Linked DNA regions of Homo sapiens: regions 1 and 2 are each linked to region 3. The links are contacts of gene promoters, found by promoter capture Hi-C in human tissues and cell types (Jung and others, 2019). All regions are on one chromosome and are shown on one strand. The core of a region is centred on a gene start or on the middle of the fragment in contact, and the rest is flanking DNA. Distances in the headings are between cores, read along the strand shown. Region 1 overlaps ATPSCKMT (ATP synthase c subunit lysine N-methyltransferase). Region 2 has its middle 110 kb from the start of ATPSCKMT. Region 3 holds the start of SEMA5A (semaphorin 5A).

Evidence for each region. Contacts are between HindIII fragments. The study calls those that stand out against the background at their distance.
Region 1: a contact is called between a fragment that was not itself captured here and the fragment with the promoter of SEMA5A in region 3, in 1 of the 25 tissues and cell types used here (dorsolateral prefrontal cortex).
Region 2: a fragment that was not itself captured here is called in contact with the fragment with the promoter of SEMA5A in region 3 in 1 of the 25 tissues and cell types used here (hippocampus).

The regions. Positions count from the first base shown.
Region 1 is chr5:10,233,109-10,238,168 of GRCh38, forward strand. It overlaps ATPSCKMT (ATP synthase c subunit lysine N-methyltransferase), which reads right to left. Exons shown (of 5, transcript NM_199133.4): 3 at 3,370-3,507; 4 at 2,103-2,153. Among named protein-coding and RNA genes, the nearest start is that of ATPSCKMT, 14 kb to the right of the region's middle. The HindIII fragment of the contact is 6,092 bases long and covers 1-5,060 here.
Region 2 is chr5:10,134,212-10,139,173 of GRCh38, forward strand. No RefSeq gene overlaps it. Among named protein-coding and RNA genes, the nearest start is that of ATPSCKMT, 110 kb to the right of the region's middle. The HindIII fragment of the contact is 6,248 bases long and covers 1-4,543 here.
Region 3 is chr5:9,542,366-9,547,407 of GRCh38, forward strand. SEMA5A (semaphorin 5A) reads right to left here and starts at 3,710. Exons shown (of 23, transcript NM_003966.3): 1 at 3,219-3,710. It overlaps SNHG18 (small nucleolar RNA host gene 18), which reads left to right and starts at 3,835. Exons shown (of 3, transcript NR_045196.2): 1 at 3,835-4,165. RefSeq lists a silencer at 3,644-3,833. The HindIII fragment of the contact is 8,719 bases long and covers 1-5,042 here.

The sequences.
Region 1 (5,060 bases), core at 1,589-4,088, 690 kb after region 3:
CAGAGATTCCTGGCTCTGGGCCTCCCCAAGGCTCCCCTGGCTCTCTGAGTATCTACCTGGGCATCAGCAGGGAACGTCACATGGCATGCTGGCTTTGTGGAGTCACCCAGCCACGGCTGGGATGGTCGACTGGCACAGCACACGCCCCCTCCCCTCATGGCCTCCACTGAGACACAGCTTGATGAAGGCTGAAAGTAGGGGCCTCCACACACAAAACTTAGCCTTCCAAACCAACAGAAGCCATCCCAGCCTCCGCACCCCTGACCGACCCACCAGCATGAAGACAGCAAGCTGGCCAAATCTCTATTACAGGGAACGTGGACACTTTGTATCCTTCAGCTGCTCCCCTTTCTCCTTGGGAATAGTGAAATGGTACATGTTCCTTATTTCAGATTTCTCTACATACAGAAGAATGGACAGTAATCACAAAAGTATTCATAAATAATAAGACTCTTATTTCCCCTGATTGAACAGCTCCATAAAGTGAGTCAGTCTACTTCAAACATGGTAAGAAGCACCCGGAGTCGGCTCCACAGGTCCTGGAGTGACGATGACTACCAAAGGCCACTGCTGCCCCCCGCTGGGACAAGTAATCCTGATTTCATCATCCTGCCTCTCCACAACGCATGGAATTTCCAGTAAATGCTAACATTCTATTTTTATAAAGCACAGATTCAAATTAAAGTTACTTGTCTCCAAAAAGCTAACAATTCCATTTTAGAACGAAAGCCCAAACATCACAGGTAATAAATCACCATCAAAATTGCGTATCAATCTATGATCCCAATCAGTTTTTTAAAAATGACCAGGGAGTGTGCCCTTCTACCTCATTTCACTTCTATAAGAAAAGGCTGAATACCAAAGTTTGGTCTTAATTTTAGGCCTAATGAGAATTATAAATGTACAGGATACTGTCACTTTCAAGAACATTTTACAAGACTGGGCACAGTGGCTCACACCTGTAATCCTAGCACTTTGGGAGGCCGAAGCAGGCAAATCACTGGAGGTCAGGAATTCAAGACCAGCCTGGCCAACATGGCAAAACCCCACCTCTACTAAAAATATAAAAATTAGCTGGGCGTGGTGGCAGGTGCCTGTAGTCCCAGCTACTCAGGAGGCTGATGCAGGAGAATTGCTTGAACCAGGGAGGTAGAAGTTGCAGTGAGCCGAGATCATGCCACTGCACTCCAGCCTGGGCAACAGAACAAGACCCTGGCTCAAAAAAAAAAGAATATTTTACAAAAGCATTTCTAAATTATATTTTAAAAGTAAAGAATATGGCATTATACTGAAGGTCTTAGTAGTAGAAATACATTTCTCAAGCACTGAAATGTCTTATACAAAAATTTGGGTATTAATTAAAAAACAAAATAAAAAAAGGTAAATTGTCTTTTTAAAAAATTAAAACCCTATCAGCTATATCACAGCATTTTAGCAAACATTCAATTCTGCCAATTTTATTATGGCTACAATGATAGACTTTGAAACGTGAAAAGGGATTTCTTTCCATGGTCTGTGCACCAGCAATACAGCAAAAGCTTCCCACCATGACCATCCTTCCAAAGGCTAAGGAGGGCCATTTTCAGTACAATACTGTGGCATTTTCACTTTTGAAAGTACATAATCAAAGTTCAATATGCCATCCTCTAGCAAATCAGTAAACTGAGGTAAACTGAAACTACTCAATGCTCATCCACCCAGAAAATTATCTTCCTTCCAAATGGGAGGAATGATCAATTCAGAGGGAACATCTCATTAACTTTCCGGAGCGATTTCAGCGAAGTGGAAGTGAGCGGCTGTGAAAACTGCAAACTACATTAGACACGGGACCTCAGAAAGCAGTTTCCAAACTGGAATGTTTAAGGCTTAGGGAAATCATTGAGAATTTAATCTGAAGCCAAAGTTTAAAAGTATGACTGAATCTTTTATGATTAAACTTCTAAGACTCTGAAGTATTTTATTAAATCAATGAACTGAAATCCAGTGTTCCCTAAAATCTCTGGGAGGCCATCACCCTCACACGGGTGAGTGGTGGTGTTGTGGCTGGAAGGGCCTTCAACATCATCTAACCCCAAACAGAGAGCAGGAAAGTGCATACTCACCATCTGAGGCACACCGAAAATAACAACGTTCGAGTACTGCGAAAAAGTAACCTGAACAAGGTGGGAAAATAATCAGTAGATTAAGTGCAAAAAGCCAAACGTGAAGCTTAACTTGTTTTACAGAAATGGGTAGCAGTTTTCCATTTTACCAAACGGTGGGTTTTGATGAACTCCTAAGAACAGCGGCCCTCCTTAAGATTTCACAAGGAAAAGAATAACATGTTCATGCTCTCATTCATTTTAATTCAATCCACTGCAGTTTTCCAAACGCTTCCCTGTAAGTCATCCCATCTCATCCTCAGGGTGACTCCATCCAGGGCACGCCCCAGTGGTCATGCGTCAGACAGCTAGTGACCACACTGTGACCCCACTGTGACCAGCTGGTGGCACCGGGGCCACGTGTTCCCGCACCAGTCCACTCTATACCACCAGCTTCACCAGAACACAGGAGACTTCAGAACCATCTGTTTTTTGTTGTTGTTGAACCATCCTTAAAATTTGAGTCCCCCTCCTCTTCTCTAAAATACTATGTAAAAAAGTGCAATAAAATGGTCTTTAGTTGAAAAACTGGGGGGAAATGTGCTTTGCCAGTTAAAATTCTTATTGCCCAATAAGTCTTATTTACTCTATAGAGAGATCGTTTATGCACATATGGCATAAAAAAACAATGCAAGCAAAACTCAAGTGAATTTTTGTAAGCTACTGATGACAATATTACAATGGAAAATTCTTATTTAAGAAAAAGCATTTTATGGAACATTCCTAAAGCAAAATTACAGGGCATTTTTAGAGTTTTTAGAGTACAAATAAATTTGGAAGTATCTTATACTTTATGAGGATAAGAAATAACCGTGATAGCACGATTCTCCAGCAACCATCTCTGTGTCTCTCTAAATATACGAATATGCATACACACACTCACACAGGCACACAAATGGAAAAGTCTAATATTTATCAATAATAATTTATAGGATTTCCAAATGAGATGAAAAATCTCATTATTTTGTAAGAAACAGAAATGACAACATTTTAATTTAGTAAATAAATTCTTGGAATTCACAAGACCTATCATATAAAAACTTTAAGCTTCTCTCTAAAGGAGACTATTTGTAAAACGTATCAATTTTACATATTTCATTATGCCAGAATATTCACTTGGATTTTAATTATTTTTCTTTTAATACATTTTTCAGTTCTCAGTCATACTAATTTTGAATAATAAAATTTTCCCTTGGATTTCTCTAGGGCCATTCTCTGCCTTACATACCTTCCACAAATCTGAAATATAAAATTTGGCAGATCCATGCACACCTTCTCGCCAAGCGCGGTATCTGGAATACCAAACTAGCCATGGGTTTAATTCATAACCAACTGCTGTGAACCCTTTCTTCGCAGCCGCTATGACCTGTGGAGAGAGGCAGGATTTATTCAAAATAAGAAGAAAAAATGAACATACATGGTCAAACAATATGAATATTTCCTATCAATGGTTTAAACATCCAATCAAAAAGCACCTCCCGTGACTAAGACATCATTTTAAAATGTGTCTCTAAAGCGATATAGCTTTGTGGACAACGTAATAGTCAACCCATGCAACTTAGTTTCCTTGATTGGTTAAAGACTTCACCTCAAGTATCAGAATAGACATTCAGGTTCACTTGGAACACCTCCATAATTGATTCTAGGTCAGCCAACCCCCGGGGAGGTCGAACAAAACATTGCTGAAAATCCACTGCATCTCTCCATCAGTGGGCTAGCACAGCAGCAGTGAAATGAAAGTGTCTGGGAGGATGGTTTTGTGAACAAGTAATAATATGCAATAAAAATAACCTGTCAATGAAAAATCTGCAATTAGTTACATATTTCCTTTGTAGTTAATGACTGTTTACTCAAAACTGAAAACAGGTAAAAGTAAAATGAAATGAATCCCAATAACGTCAACTGTGGAATCCCACTGGCCTCCGGAGAGTGGGAGGGATGTGGGGCAGTCCTGGGTTCTCTCTGCCTGTTCTGTCCTGCCCCATTCTTTAAGGGAGCATCCCTTGACTCAGCTGTCCCACCTAAGATAGTTCCCAAGTACTACAGTGCTGCAAGAAAACATTTTCTCAGAAACCACAGATACTCTTCAAATACGTAAAGCATTCAAATATGAATTTCAAAACTTTCTCCTTGATTTATTGATATGGTTTGGCTCTGTGTCCCCACCCATATCTCATCTTGAATTCCCATGTGTTGTGGGAGGGACCTGGCGGGAGGTAACTGAATAATGGGGGCAGGTCTTTCCCATGCTATTCTCATGACAGTGAGTAAGTCTCACAAGATCTGATGGTTTTATAAGGGGGAGTTTCCCTGCGCAAGCTCTCTCCTTGCCTGCCACCATCAATGTAAGACATGACTTGCTCCTCCTTGTCTTTCACCTTCCACCATGATTGTGAGGCCTCCCCAGCTGTGTAAAACCGTAAGTCTAATCACCTCTTTCTTTTGTAAACTGCCCAGTCTCAGGTATGTCTTTATCAGCAGCATGAAAACAGACTAATATATTTCTTTTTTTTTTGAGATGGAGTCTCGCTCTGTCACCCAGGCTGGAGTGCAGTGGCGTGATCTTGGCTCACTTCAGCCTCCGCCTCCCAGGTTCAAGCGATTCTCCTGCCTCAGCCTCCTGAGTAGCTGGGATTACACGCGTGCACCATCATGCCTGGCTAATTTTTGTATTTTTAGTAGAGAAAGGGTTTCACCATGTTGGTTAGGCTGGTCTTGAACTCCTGACCTCGTGATCTGCCCACCTCAGCCTCCCAAAGTGCTGGGATTACAGGCATGAGCCACCACACCTGGCCACTAATAAATTTCTTAGAAACAAATAGTGGCTCCCAGAGGGTGAGGGGAGGAGAGGAGTAGAAAGTTATTATTTAATCGGGGCAGAGTTTCAGTTTTGCAAGATGAAAAGAGTTCTGGAGATGG
Region 2 (4,962 bases), core at 170-2,669, 590 kb after region 3:
AGGTAAGGCAGCCCAGGCCAGTGATTTGCTCCAGGAGATCATCAAGGAACTGAGCATCTTCTGTCTTTTCCTCCACCATCTTCAGCAGAAAGTGGTCACAATGTGATCCCAAGAAGCCTGCTGTACCTCCTGGTATCTTGTCTGTATTCCAGGCAGGAAGAAGGTGGAAGAGCCAACAGCAGCTTCTTACCAAGTGCTGTCTTCTTATCTGATGAGGAGCCCCCTCCTGCAGGAATTCTACTTACATATCATTGAGCAGACCATCACACGGCTAACACCACCTGCAAAGATGCTGAGAGATCCTTTATCTTTGGTGAATATATTGACAAGCCAAGCAAAGCTTAAGGGGATTTTTTAGTAAAAAAAAAAAAAAAAAAGTTAAGGCCGGGTGCAGTGGCTCAAGCCTGTAATCCCAGCACTTTGGGAGGCCGAGGTGGGCAGATCACGAGGTCAGGAGATCGAGACCACCCTGGCTGACACAGTGAAACTCCATCTCTACTAAAAATACAAAAAAAAAAAATTAGCCGGGCGTGGTGGCAGGCGCCTGTAGTCCCAGCTACTCAGGAAGCTGAGGCAGGAGAACGGCGTGAACCCAGGAGGCAGAGCTTGCAGTGAGCCGAGATCACGCCACTGCACTCCAGCCTGGGCGACAGAGCAAGATTCCATCTCAAAAAAAAAAAAAAAAAAAAAAAAGTTAAAAAAAAAAGAGGATGGCTAGGCCTTTGGCATGGTTGCCAAAGGTGTAGTCTCCAATACCCAAAAGATTTTGTTAGTATTATGTATTGTGTTAGTATTATGTATTGTTAGTATTATGCATTTGTTAGTATTAATAGGATCATTTTTCCTATTGAAATTTCTAATTGGTTTTTGCTGAAGGAAGAAAAGTTGCCAATCTTTATATGTCCAACTCACATTCAGCACTCCCGCTAAACTAATTAATTGGTTTTAATCATTTGTCAGGTTATTCTTCGGATTTTCCAAACTGAGCAATTATGGCCTCGGAAAATAACAAGAGTTTTGTTTCTTCCTTTCCAATTTGTATTTCTTTTCTTGAATTTGGGCTAAGCTGTGATATGGGAGATGTGATTTGACTTTAATTTTGTGGCACCGCTAGGCATGGTGGTTCCTACAGTTTCCTGGTTTACATCCTTTAATAGTTCAGGGAGTTCTCCTTTATTCAGTTTTCTAGGTGTTTGTGTCATGAATGAATGTTTATGGGAGCTGGACAAATGGCAGGATCTACTGTGAAAATTATGGGGATTTTTTTCCCCACTAATTTAGTAAAGCATTGACAAATTGACAATTTGTCCATTTTTTGTTGTTGTTGAACCAACCCTAGTGGCTCGAGTTATATTATATTATTAATAAATTATAGGATTCAATTTACTAATATTTTCTTTGTGGTTTTTACATGTACAAGTATAATGATCCTTTGTGTGTGTTTTTTTTTCTTATGCTTTCCTTATCTTATTTTGATAATAGTGTTTTTACTAACTTCACAAAAGGAGTTGGTCAGCTTTCCATCTTTTTCTAAACTCTAGAATAGTTTCAGGGGATTTAGGTTATTTGTTCCTTAAATACTTTATAAAAATCATCTTTTAAACTCTACGGATTTGTTGCCTCTTTGGTTATTGATCTTTGTCTATCATTTCCATTTATCTAATGATTGTGTCTCTATCCAGGTTTTCTACTTGCTCTTGGATCAATTTGTTTATATATATTATCTTAGAAAGTTTTCAACATCAGTCATTCTTAGTGTATTGGTATAAAAATATTCAATTCTTTTATAATTTTTGAAGGTTGATAGTATCCGTAGTTATAAATCCTTTTTTGTTTACTCATGATATTTATGTCTTCTCTCCTTTTTATTGATTATACCTGTCAAAAATTTGTCTATTGTGTTAATTGTGTCAAAGAACTTGCTTTTGGTTATGTTGATGACTGGAATTTCTGGCCTTCTGTTTCATTAATTCCTGCTTGTATATTAGTTTTCTTCTTCATTCTACTTTCTTTAGATTTTTGTTATTCTTTTTTATAGTTTCTTAAGTTGAAAGCTTAGCTCATTTATTTTTAATCTTTCTTGTTTTCTAATAAATGCACTTCTGGATCTAAATTCCCCTCTGAGTACCACTGTGGCTTTATCCCATAACTTTTTATGTGCAGAACTTTTACAGTCATTCGGTTTTAAGTACTGTACTCCATTATGATTTCCTCTTTAAAACGTGAATTATTTAGAAGGTTTTTTTTTAACCTCCAGATGTTATGCGGGGATATCCTGTCTATCTTTATGTTGTCGGTTACTATTTTTACTCCCCGGTCCCCATTGGAAAAAGGACTTGATGACTTCAGCCTTTGAAAATTGTGGATTTTTCTTTGTTGCTTAGTACATAGTTAATTTTTTATAAATTTCCCCATGTACTTAAAACTAATGAGTATACTCACTTGGATGTAGAGTTAATTAAATTCTTCAAATCCTTTATTTTCTTATTAATTATTATTCTACTTGCTATGGTAGCTTTTGAGAACTCATTTCTTGTGGCCGCGGTAACAAATTATCACAGACTCGGTGGTTTAAAACAGCAGAAATTTGTTCTGTCCAAGTTCTGGAGGCCAGAAATCCAAAATCAAGGTGTCATCAGGGTGGTGGTCCTTCTAGGGGCTCTAAGGGAGTCTGTCCCTGGCCACCTTAGCTTCTGGTGGCTGCCCACCTTCCTGGACACTCCGTGACTTGTGCCAACTTATTACAATGTCTACCTTCCCCTTCCCATGGCCTCCCCCTCTGTGTCAATTCTCTGCCTCTCTCTTAAAAAGATACTTGCAATGACATTTAGGAACCACCTGGATAATCTAGGATGATCTCATCTCAGTGTTCTTAAATTAATTACATCTGCAAAGACCCTTTTTACAAATAAGGTAATATTTACAGATTCCAAGGATTAGGATGGGGACATGTCTTTGGAGCCACCATTCAGCCCGCTACAGGAAAGATGTGTCAAAATCTCTCCAGGATTGTCAATTTCTCCTTGTAATTCAAAGGAATGGCTGTATTTCAAAGGTATTGTATTAGGTGCATACAACGTCAAAACTATTATATCTCCTTCGTGCATTTTCACTTGTATTAATATGAAATGGCTGTCTCTGTCCTTAATACTTTTCATCTTGAGATCTAATTTATCTGTTGGAATATTGCTACGTTCTTCTCTTTTATTAATTTTAAAACTTTCTGAGTCATTATGTTTCATCCTGATTTTTATTTCATTGTTTACGTTGTCACAACTGATAAGTTTGGGCTTATTTAGCCATTATAACATATTTTCTCTCTTCCCCCTGATTTCTCTAGGTTTCCTTTCCTCATATCTTCCCTAAATCTGACCAGCGGAAGCCACGGCCTGGGGTGTTTTCTGGTTCAGTCACAATTTCCAGGGTAGGACTGTATTGTAAGAAGAATGCGGTCACTCTCCCCAAGCGCACATTATCACACTTCTTTTAAGCAGGAGATCTTAGGACTGTGTGAGTGGCCAGTCACATTTCCATTTTGCCAGAACTACCATTATTCCCACAGCCTCTGGAACAAAACCTCTTGCTCGAGAAGGTGCTTCAGATGAACTCACTATTTGAAAATGCATCTTGTTACGCTGTTTTTTTGTTTTTTGTTTTGTTATAAATAATTAAGTTTTGAGGGATTCTGCAGATGCGCCAAAAAACACGTGTCCGGGGTAAAAGCTGTGGAAGGTGCTCGGTTCTAAGGAGAGGGAAGGAAAGCCAAGTGGACCCTGTCATCTGAAATTGTTTTGTCATCCACTGACTTTTACAAATAAAACAGCCGGGCGCAGTGGCTCACGCCTGTAATCTCAGCACTTTGGGAGGCCAAGGCGGGCGGATCACGAGGTCAGGAGATCGAGACCATCCTGGCTAACACGGTGAAACCCCATCTCTACTTAAAAAAATACAAAAAATTAGCCGGGCGTGGTGGCGGGCGCCTGTAGTACCAGCTACTCGGGAGGCTGAGGCAGGAGAATGGCGTGAACCTGGGAGGCGCAGCTTGCAGTGAACCGAGATTGCGCCACTGCACTCCAGCCTGGGCGACAGAGCGAGACTCCATCTCAAAAAAATAAATAAATAAAAATAAAAAAATAAAACAAGCTGTGGCAGAGTAGGTTCTGAAAGGGTCAGAGGGGACAGTGTGCTCTGAGAAAGTGGGCCCACGAAGGTAAACAGCGCTGCCAGCCTGCGGTGTTGCTTTGCCACCCAGGGCAAGCATTCTTGGCACATTTCAGCTGCAGCTGCTGAGCTAGTAAAATCTGAGAAAAGAAGGAACACAGTGAATAAAGAAGACAGAAGTGAAAGAAGAGAGCGCAGCCAAGAGAGGCTCCAGATAAGGCCGCGATGCTAGGGAGAAAAGGAATTTATAACACAGAGAATACACGGCGCTGGGGCTTTCTCGCATTTCTGCTATCGCCGTTAAAATTATCCGGGTTCAAATAGAGAAATGCTCTGTCCTAGTCATTATTCATGTTTCTTTCCAAGGCACAAATTCCAGCATAGGCAATTTTGGCAGGAACTGAACTATTTATTTACTGGATTCTTGCTTACGACCAGGCAAGCAGAAAGCCCTCCAGCACGCACAGAACTGGGGCTGGCTTCCTCTCTCCGATGGCTCCTAGGAGGATCTGCCTGACCCAAATGAGTGCCAGCTATAAAATCTCAGCAAGGCCAAGGGCAGAGGCAGCGCCACTCAGCGAGGGAAGCCATAAACTAGACAGAAAGACCTCCTTGCTCCACACTCTCCTGGATCACATCCTCAGGTGGAGTTTAAATCACTGTGTCCCAGTTTCCACGTCTGTGGGCAGGTGATCCGGCACCCGCAAATTCAGAGCTGCTGGCATGAAAACCCTATAAGGTGATTAGACACACTGGCTTCAGGAGTGTTTGATACAGACACCACGTTCGCCGCCCACGAAT
Region 3 (5,042 bases), core at 2,460-4,959:
AAATTATCTATGTTGTCAACTGTACTCAAGACAACTGAAAGTACTTATAGACGCTCATTTTATGATTCAAGAAAACAGTTAACTTTCTTGGTATAAATTTGCAAGTAGATGCAGGTGAGCAGAAATGTACAATGCTTCACTTTAGACACTTTGTACTTAGTTGTAACTCAATTTGTTAGACACCATAATTTACATTTTAAACATTATTTAACACATAAAAACTTGTCACCTTGGTATAATTATACCCCAAGCAATTTGTCTGGGTAACTATAGCAACAATTGCAGAAACATTTTTAAATACAAAATTGGTATAATTTTAGAATCAAGAATTATGGAGGATTTATTGCAGGATGTACGGCTGCTGTACTCAAATAGTTGTACATATACTACTATAAAAATGGATTCCTTGACTGGGATATGTTATAAACTCATTTGTTCTATCTTGCACACCATCTGCTTTGTAGCTCAAACCTCTTCCTTGGGATGAGTTTTTGATATTAGTTAACTCTAGGGTTCATGATCACTTGTCTACATAATGCAATGCCTTTATACTCTTGGCTGGACATTTAGTAAAGGTTTTCTGCTCCTCCTCCACATCTTCCTGTATCAAAAGCAAAGGCTCAATTTCAATGACTTTATGACCAAAAATAAAATCACTTGAAACTCTTAAAACTAATCACCAAGTTAAGTAAAACTGTGTCACGATTCAGATAGGCAGCTCTCTCTAACATCAGGAGCATCTGACATTGTCCCCAAAGAGCTGGCATCTGTTATTTTGGGCCACTAGCACACGGTACAGAGAAAGGCTTGTTGGTTGTAACATTTGTCCTTCAGCAAGAGGCTAACATGACTCTGGAACTAAATTTCTTACTGCAAATCCATGGACGGGGCTTCAGAAGGCCCATGACTCTAAAATTTATGCAGAAGTTTGTATAAATGTGCTTGTATTTATTTCGGTCTCGTGGTCAATAAGTTTTAACAGCCTCTGAGCTGTAAGTTTCTACGTTTCATTCTCCCAAGACACGTGATGAAATCATTTTAAAGGGAAACGGCAGTGAAGAACGCAGGTTTATTTTTACCAAATTCTGAACGTCTCAAAAATTTCCTCTGGACAGAGACAAGCTTTACCACCCAGGAGGCCAAAGCTTTACTCGCAGCAGGGATCTCGCAGCTGTTTGACATTATAACAACCAAATGAGTTAGTGCAATTCACAAAAGACATAAAATGATTAGCATCATCTGTCTTCTCCCTGTTAATAAAAGTACATATTGGCTAAAAGCACATAGAAATAGATGTCAGTTTGTCAACCCCACACTTCAATGAGTATACAGATGCTTAGTGTGACTGCATGGAGCAACGTGGATGAGCAAGCTTCTATCTCCAAAGTTTTTACAAGAAAGAAACTCAAGGGAAAAAACATCTGTGTTTCAAGTGAACCAAACAATTACACTTAGGGCTGTATTTTTCATGAAAAAAAAAAAAAAACATAGAAAAAGAAATCTTTTGGAGGGGAAAAAAAAATCCATGTTTCTTTTGGTGTAAATACAGGCACAGACAAGAAAATTATTTCAGTTATACATAACTTAATGGTATTATCTGCTTGAACTGAAGTTGTGTAAAGTGGTCATGATAAACATTACACTCTCTAAAATAATGAAACTGGCATTAATTAGCAACAAATTCAGCAATCCTAATTAGGTATTGAAAAATCTTTCTTATTAAAGCCTGGTTTTGTGTTTCTGTCTCCTTATGAACAGACTACCTCTATAATTAATAACATATCTGCTGATTCCAAACTCAGCCATTATGACAGAGCTCTTCTCGGTAAGCTAGACGTAAAACTTGTCTTTCTTCAAAACAAACCAGAACAATCATTTGTGACTCCTGATGTGTTAACTAAAGTACCCCTAAAAAGCAGAACGGTATTAAACAAAGCTCACGTTATCTTCCCTCAATTTCGATTTCTTTCTGAGTAAATGTAACAGTCACAAGGAAGGCAGATGCCCAGACAAGGAAGACTTTACAGCGATCTTTTTCTCTGGAAGAGACCTTTCTAGTTAGAGCATTTATGTCTGGCCACCACCTTTCCTGTCCCCTCTCCTAGCAAGGCTGACAGCTCTCTATAGCCACCAGATCAGCTCCCCCAACCCCCGGCCCCCAAAATGAAATTATTGCAAGATCTGCCTGGTTCTGCTGTTTGTTGCCTGGGACTCCCGCCCACTCGCCCAGGACCCAGCAACTGCCTGTGGCGCCTCGTCCTCCGAGCGCTCGCTCGCAGCGCCCCCTGCCGGGAATCCCGAGGACGCCGCAGGCGCAGGAAAGTTAAATCCCAACTCCGGCCGCGGCATCCTGGTACAAAGCAAGCAAAGGGCGAGGAGGTGAACGCGCTTCCCGCCAAAGCCAGGGGAACAGGGATGTGACCGCTCCAAGCCAGGCACCGGCCGCCGCGGGGAGCGAGCCGGGGGAATCACTCCTCCACGACCGTTCCCACGCACATCTTGGGAGAAACCATTCCCTCTGGAGCCCGATCTGCCCGAAACCCTGGGGTCTGAAACCCTGAGCCGCGGTGTGCAAAATCCGTGGAGCAGCGGAGGGATGCCTGGTGAAAGGGGCTCGCCTAGCTGCAGCGCACCTGGCTGGTGGTTCCCCAGGCCTCTGCATCCCCCGCCTTAGTGTCTTTCATTAACCAAGGCGCTTGGCGGAGTTGAGCCCAAGTCCCATTGCCTCCCGGTTCCCCTGTAAGGAAAGCAGGAAAACCTGCCCAAGCCGGTGGGGCTGCGAGGTGGCCGCTCCCGAACCGCCAAGTCCCGACCTCCGTGTCCCCTGCCCCCGGCTCGCGGCAGTGCGAGCCTGGAGGCGCGCCGGGGGCGGGCACAGACCAGTGTGCGCACCTTTCCGGGTGTTGGGCAGGGGTCCCGTCTCGCCCACCGCGACACTCCGGCTCCTTACCTCTCCATGCTCAGACCTCGGCACAGGCGGGTACACAAACTTCCAGCCCGTGCACTAGCTCAACTGTGGGCGCCCCCGGACTGACGGTCGTCCTAATCCTGTACGCGCAACCCCCGCCCAGGTGCCTGCTGATGGATCCCACCCGAGATCGGCACCACCCACCAGCCGACCGCTGCAGTCCCCGGGTCCCGGCCAGCGGCGCGGCGCGGCGCGGCGCGGTCAGGGGCTCCTGCCAAGGCCACGCAGGAATCGGGCGGGGGTCGCTCACCAGGTGCGAGGAGCGCTGGTGCCAGTCATCCAGCGCCTGGGGGCCAGAGCGGCTCCGAGGATCCTCTTCAGCACCTGGCTAGGGAAGTGGAGGCAGCAGCTGCAGCCGCCCCCTGCCACTTCCCCAGAGCCGCCCCCTACTCGCTGAGTTCCAGAATGGGGGCACCGGCTTGGGGGCCACGAGCACGGTCCCCGAGCGCGCGGCCAACCGGTGGGTGGGCAGGTTCGCGCCCAGCAGAGACGACCCTCGAGGTGGCAAAGTTGGGTGTCCAAGCCAGCTCCGCGGGGCAGTCCTGGGTGGGAGAAGGGAGCGTCCCGGGATGAGCGACACTGGCCGGGCCGCCCCTGCACGGGGAAGGTGGAGGGCCGGGGCTGCAGCGGGCCAAGGGCCGCGGCTGGCCTGAGGCTGCGAAGCCCACCCGCGGCGGGAAAGCAGCGCTCGGGAGCGGGCTCAGGGAGAGCAGCCGCCACCGGCGCCGCCTTCCCGGCAAGTAGATCGGCGCGGGGCGAGCGGGCGCGGAGAGCGCGGGGCGGAGAGCGCTGGGCGGGGAGCGGGGGACAGCCTGGGCCCACCCCCGCCCCGCCCCGCCCCTGCCCCGCCCCCGCCGCCGCGCCGCCTCCTCCTCCTCCTCCTCCCCGCCGGGGTGAAACTCGAGCGCCCCACCCGCGCCTGACCTCCCCGAGCCCCTCCCCGGGCCCCGCCCCTTCCCGGTACAGGACCCCCACCTTCGCTCCTGGGAGCCCCGCTGCACCCCAGGAGTTCCATTCCAGCCTCCCCAGTGCGAGTGCGGCCGAGCGCTGACTTTTGGGGGCTCCCTCCCCCGTCTCACTGGGTCCCTCTGCGGCTCCCCCGCCCGCTGTCCCGGTTCAGACGTGGCTGCACCCCGGAGGGGGGCGCCGGCCGAGACCTGAGACGTGGCGCTCCCTCTCTGCCGGCCTCGGCTTCAGGTACGTGCGGTTCCCTCGGCTAAATCTGGCCCGGGGGATGGGGGGCAGGGGCCGTCTGGTCCTCCGGAACTCGAACTTTGTGATTTTGTTCTTTCTGTGTGACATCCTCATCCGTTCTGAGGGAGAAACTCCTTAAAGAAGACGAGAGAGTCAGTCGTTGCGGGTTCTTGGAGGAGCACTTTGGGGGTGAGACTCCCGGCTAGTTCGGGTCGATTTCAGCGGGATTAAGTCAAGGAAATGAACAAATCTGACGAATCAGGGAGGCCAGAGAAGGCGTCCCCAGGTAGCCACGCTGAGCGTTAAGAGAGAAGTCCCGTATGGTCAAAGTCATTCGTCCAATTCTGTGTCAATTATTCCTTGTTGCACTTTTGCAGGATCCTTGGGCCTTACTAAGTACTCAGGTGAAAAGTTGATAATTGGGAAGCAAGTAAAGTACCTTTGAAGACGTGTATAATTGGACACTTTGTTGCAGTTCTTCAGTTTCTGGAGGAGGCGGTGGGGGGGGAGAGGGAGGGGGTCAGCCTCGCGAAAAGAGCAAATGGTAAAGTTATAGGAGTATAAGGCATAAAACTTGGGTTGGGAGTCCTGACTGGCCTTGAGTGGCCCTTTCCCACTGGATGGGGGTGCGGGACAGTATCTCTGGGCCCTTTTTACTCAGTCTGCGCCTCAGAGGGAGGCTTGAAGGTCCCCTGCATGAGGAAATGTGTGAATTGCCCCCTCCTGACCGCAGTGAGGTAGGGACCCCCGCAAGGACCCACGTTCACACCAGCGCCCTTCCAGCCAGTGGTGGGGTATGGATGGGCCTCGCTGGTCCTGGGCATGGTCCGGTGCGTCCATAAGGGTTCCATTGAGCTCATCCATAAAACAAAGAAGCTAT